Linked DNA regions of Homo sapiens: region 2 is linked to region 1. Evidence: promoter capture Hi-C in human tissues and cell types (Jung and others, 2019). All regions are on one chromosome and are shown on one strand. The core of a region is centred on a gene start or on the middle of the fragment in contact, and the rest is flanking DNA. Distances in the headings are between cores, read along the strand shown.

Region 1 (2,746 bases), core at 92-2,591:
GGCAGCAGCGGAGGCGGGGAAGGAACAACTTTCCCTCCGCCCTCTAACCACAAGGGCGGGGTGGGGCGGCCTCGCTGGGGTCGGGCTCCTCCACTTTCCCAGCTGGGATCCCCTGCCGGAGCTGGCGTGGGGGCCGGGGAGGGGGACCAGAGGGGCTTCCTTCTCTCCCCAAGCCCCGCCAGATGTTGGAAAGGCAAACAATAGGGGAAACGCGGAGAAACAAAAGGCCATTCGCCACGATCTCAGTCGGCTGCGTAGAGAGATCTCTGTGGGGAGGGTTAGGGGAGAGGGTCAGGAAAGAGCGCGAGGGGGGGGATCCCGAGAGATTTAGAGTCTCTGGTACTTGCCAGGCACCAGGGGTCGGCGCTTTACCCTCCCAGCAGGGGTCTGAAGGTGGGAAGGGGCAATCAAAGAAAACTTGAAGGGTTTTCACCTTCTTCCCCAGTTCAGGGAAAGGGAGGGGCTGGGATTCCAGATGTTTGACAGTTGTTGGCCCCAAAGTTAAGCGCGATTTGTACGGCCTTTACACGCTCCCCACCTCCGTGAGGCATCGTCAGCCCCGGGGGCGACCTGGCTGACGGTGCGGACTTCCCCTACGCTGCCCCAAGCCGAGACTCCTCCCTCAGGATCAGGACGCCCAAGCGTTGTCCCCCAGCCCAGGCGCACTTTTGTAAAAGTTTGTCTTCCCGCCACCCACAGCCCAACACGCACCCTGCAGGCGTCCGCGGCTGGGGATGGGCTCGGAGTCTTGCACCCCGAAAGAAGGACGATCTTATTGATTTATATCTTTTCAAATCAAGGACAAATCAAGATCCCGGGGTGGAAAGTGGGCGACCCTTGTTCCTGCCGGGAAGTGCACACGAGGAGCCGGCCAGAAACCCAGGCGCCGGCAGGGGTCTGAAGAGGACTCCAGCCCCGGAAGCCCGTGGCCGGCGGGCAGAAGACCGGTCCGCCGCCTCCCGCACCTTCTTGCACCCGCGCCCAGGTGCGCCCCAAACCTCGCCGCCCGCCCGGGCGAGATCGGGAGCGAGCAGCCACCGGGCTGCGCCGCCTCCCCTAGCTTGGAGCGGGTTCTTACTCACCGTGGGGTTTTACCTCCAGCCCAGGGCCCGGTCGGCTCCCTTCGCCGGGTCAGCTGCAGCCAGCGCGAAAGAAAATGGTGAGCTCGGGGCAGGTGGGGCGTCGCTTGCCAATCCACGCAAGGGACTCTGCCGCCGGTGCGCGAGGTCCCGGCGAGCCAACCGGCGGACGGGCGAGCGCCTGGCTCCAGCTGCAGCCGCCGTCGCTCCGGAGCAGCCCCCTCATGCACCCAGCGCGCCGCGCAGCCGGCCGGGGCTCGACTGTCTCGCGGGGACGCCGAGCGGGGACCCCTGGCGGCCGCCTGCGGTATGGCAGCACCGTGGAGAGAAAAGTCGTCTTTGGGATCATCTTCCCTCCGGAAAGAGATGGGACATGACCAGTCTAAGGGGGCTTCCAGCCTTGCAGAAAAGACACTGGGCCAGGGCAGTGAAGAAGGTGTCAGATCAGAAAGGATGATCTCTGGGTCCACAACGGCCACTTCCAAGGCACCTAGAGAGGGGGAAACAGTTTGCCTTCCCCAGGATTTTCTGATTGTTGAAAAATACCATGAACTGCCTGACACAGAGCGGAGCATAAATCATTGGAAAATACTCAGATTCTAGTGGATTTACTAGAACACACTGGGAGTCATGGATGAACCTGGATTTTAAAGCTCAACCCACAGCCCGCCACTCTCTACTTGTGTGGTCTTGGTCTATCTACAACCTTAAAGCCTCAGTATTCTCCTCCGTAAATTGGCGGGGAGCAATATCACCCTTGCAGGGTGATGGTTACGGGTAAACTACATTTGAAACGTTTTTATAGTTTATAGTAACAGAAATCAAATATGAGCTTCCTGCCTTCTGGAGAAAAAGAATTGGATCTTTCACATTTTTCTATTACCCATATGATCACATCTTAATGCATATTGATTGAACTGTACCAAATGACGAAGTACTGCATTTTACCATTCTTACTACACACTTCAAAGAGGTGTGGAAATATATTAAGTAGAAATTAGGATATATAGAGAAAACATCCCTCCTCCAAAAGAGGTTTCTGCAACTAACTACGAAGTGAGAACTTCTAAAATCACTTACATCTTTTGCAATATCATCTCAGATATTGTAAGAAACATTTAATAAATAGTCATGACTTAATGATATCAACCCTGGATTAAATGACTCTAATTCTGTGTCACTTTTGTGTAATGTAAAGATACCGATTGTGAATATAAGACTCAAATATGGGAAAACTGCCAGATACAAAAATACAGCCGCTAAGCAATATTTCTGTTCATCACCGAGGAATCTCATTTCCAAAGTGCCCCAGTTTTTAAGAGGAAGAACACCAGAGTCAGACAGACCCATAGCAGCTGAGTCTAACCTTTCTGAAGCTCTGTTACCTCATCTTATAAAATGAGGATAATATAGGTAGCTGTCATTCAATGAAGGAATGCATACAACATGCTTAGCATAACACCTGTCACATGGTAAGTGCTCCAGGGTCACCACCTATCATTGTTTCCAGCATACAGTTATCACCCCACCGACATGTAGCCCCTCCCTCATGAGCTCAAGAGCCCCCAGCACGTGTTCTACTCACACACGCACAAGCTTCAGTGTCCCTTAAGATGTTATCTCCTGGAAAGTAGGAACAGAAAGAGAATATTTTCAGGTAGTTTGGA
Region 2 (2,700 bases), core at 81-2,580, 340 kb before region 1:
GCTTCTATCGGTCAGTGGAAGCCAACAGGCATTTATTCATGAGCTGGGTGGGAGGGGGAGGAAGGGGAAAGAGGAAGGAAGACCAGGAAGGGTGGTGGTGGGTGAGTGGGTGGGTGGGGATGGAGGTGGCAGGAGTTCGCTTTTGAATGGGTGGGAAAGTGACAGGAAGGCTAGCAACTTCAAGCCAAACTGTTCCTTTATTTGGGTTGGACTCCTGGTCTGTCTCCCTGGGGGAGGAGGTCTGCAGCACTCTGTAGGGACAGAGAAGGAAGCAGATGAGCCTTCAGGAAGGCAGGGCCTCCCCTAGGAGCTGGGATTTACACAGCAGCAACTGTGCTGAGCTTCAGCTCCTGCATTTTATCACTGGCTTCCTGTTTCCATCTTAAGGGCCCAGACCAGGCTCTTGCCACAGGCATATTTTAGAAGTCCCAGTTTATTTATTTTCAAAAATAATTTCCAATTTTTCAAAGTAATTCATGGTCAGAGTCATGACATCAAATAGAATAAGAAGCTTTTATCTAAAGAACAGCATTCTCCTGCTCCACCCTCCACCTCCCAGTCCTGCTTCCTATAGGTAGCCACTTTCATCTCCTTAAGCTATTTCTTATATTTACCTCCCTTTTCTAAATCAGTGGTTCTCAAACCTAAGTGTCCATCAGAATCACTCAGAGAGTTTGTTAAAAGATGTTTCTGGGCCTCGTCCCCAGAGTTTCGGATTCAATGGTTTTGAGGTGAGGATGGGGCCGGGGTTCAAAAATTTGCATTTCTAGTAGGTTCCCAAGTGATGCTGCTGGTCCTGGGTCCACACGTTCTAGATAACATGTGTAAAATTACTTCTGGACTTCTCAGTGGTGTTTGGTATTGACTGGCCTTCTATTGCGTTAATTAACTCTGTGAAGCCTCCTTGATGCTAACCTGACCTCCAGCTTTCTGTTACCCAGGTACCCTCCATTGAAATACTGGAGTGATCTTTTGTAAGGTTCCATTCCTGGTTCTTTGAATTGTTCACTGTGTATAACCATTCTGTTACTCTCTCTTGGTCAGTACTTTATACTTTCAACTTCATATATATTTGATTTATATCACCTAGGAAAGTAAGAATTATCATCTTCCCTATTTTACAGATTGAAAAGTAGAGACTCAGAGTACTTAATAACAGTAAGATGCATCACCATACTAAATCTTCGGGCTTCATATCTTTGTCTTTTAGAGCCAGGATCTTGCTCTGTCACTCAAGCTGGAGAGTGCAGTGGTTTGATCAACACTCATTACAGCCTCTATCTCCTGGGCTCAAGTCATCCTCCCACCTCAGCTTCCTGAGTAGCTGGGACTACAGGCACACCACCACATCTGGCTACTTCAAAAAATTTTTTTTGTAGAGACGGGGTCTTGCTTTGTTGCCCAGGCTGGTCTTAAACTCCTGCCTCAAGCAGTCCCCCAGCCTTGGCCTCTCAAAGTGTTAGGATTACAGGGATGAGTCACCACTCCCAGTCCAGGCTCCATATCCTTTTGTTTCTCCAATTATTATTTCTACCTAGAATCCCAAAGGCACCAGCTTATTATCCCAGTTCACATATTTGCCTGTGTTTTACTCCATTTACTAAAAGTAGAAGGATATGTTATGATTGAGTGAAAAAACCAGGAAGAACATCCACTTTTCTTCTGCAGAGATTGTGCACCCTTAACAGAAACATCCTTCCTTCACACCACCCACCTAGTTTTTATGTTACTAGCAGCATCCTTAAAGAACCAAATGAGACTCAAAAGCTACTCTGAGACTTATAGAAGCATTACACACAAGTAAGAAATGGCTGCTTGGGGACCCACCTGGTTGTGAATATAAAAAATAAACCCAGAAACTATATAGAGAGGAAAAAGGGACCTCTACAACCATGACCCAAGGGATCCCTGATATGTCATCATGTTACTGCTAAAAGGCAAATGGTAGTTAATTCTCTCTCAAGTCACTGTTGGTGAGTCAAGAGGGGAAGAGCATAAACTGACTCAGATGGAAAGTATTTATGGAACAGAACATAAAACACTTCACAGCCCCACACTGTACTGTCTTCAGCCCTCAGAATGTGTTGCAGCCAGGAGGTCTCTCAGAATATTTCAAAGTAGTTCTCAGGGGTAGGCGGGAAGGGGATTATTGAAGGTTCTTCTTTTCCCATCATTTGAATTTTGCTGCTGTTTGCTTTTCATTTCGTCTGGCAGTTGCACTGTTTATGTGTGTTGATTGAGATGGTGAAGGCCAGGGAGTCCGGGAGGGGAAGGAAGAGAACACTTTCTGAACATAGTGCAGAAAGGGGCAGACAGGGAGGCGTATGGGGTAATCATGTTCCCAAAGGGCGGGAAAAGGGGAAATGACTATTTATTGAGTTACTCTTCTGTACCAGGCACAGGATTAGGAGGTGTAAATGTATTCTCCAAAATATCAACTCCCCATTCTCCTTTGTCATTGCAAACCTGCCTAAACCACTCTGGGTGGCTATTTTGGAGGTTAAACTTCAGAGGTTAACAAGAGGAGATGGCATCACCTCTCTCCATTTGCAAAGGTTACAGAGAAAGGGCCATCAGACCTTTTGCATAATGCCAAGAAAATGCATGCCTAGCTGCTGGTTCTCACTAGTCTGAGGGTAGTCAGAACCAGGCTGGTGGGACTTAATTCCCAGTAGATGGAAACAGACCCTTCCTCTCACC

Evidence for each region. The method cuts DNA at HindIII sites, captures the fragments that hold promoters and counts their contacts. A contact is called where the count stands out against the background at its distance.
Region 2: a contact is called between a fragment that was not itself captured here and the fragment with the promoter of MOB3B in region 1, in 1 of the 25 tissues and cell types used here (lymphoblastoid cells).

Annotation. Positions count from the first base shown.
Region 1 is chr9:27,528,473-27,531,218 of GRCh38, forward strand. It overlaps MOB3B (MOB kinase activator 3B), which reads right to left and starts at 1,342. Exons shown (of 4, transcript NM_024761.5): 1 at 1,083-1,342. It overlaps LOC124902107 (dapper homolog 3-like), which reads left to right. Exons shown (of 2, transcript XM_047424279.1): 1 at 1-254; 2 at 548-2,228. The coding sequence ends at 1,536. RefSeq lists silencers at 70-119, 1,090-1,389. The HindIII fragment of the contact is 5,687 bases long and covers 878-2,746 here.
Region 2 is chr9:27,192,614-27,195,313 of GRCh38, forward strand. It overlaps TEK (TEK receptor tyrosine kinase), which reads left to right. Exons shown (of 23, transcript NM_000459.5): 11 at 1-10. Among named protein-coding and RNA genes, the nearest start is that of TEK, 85 kb to the left of the region's middle. The HindIII fragment of the contact is 6,550 bases long and covers 1-2,700 here.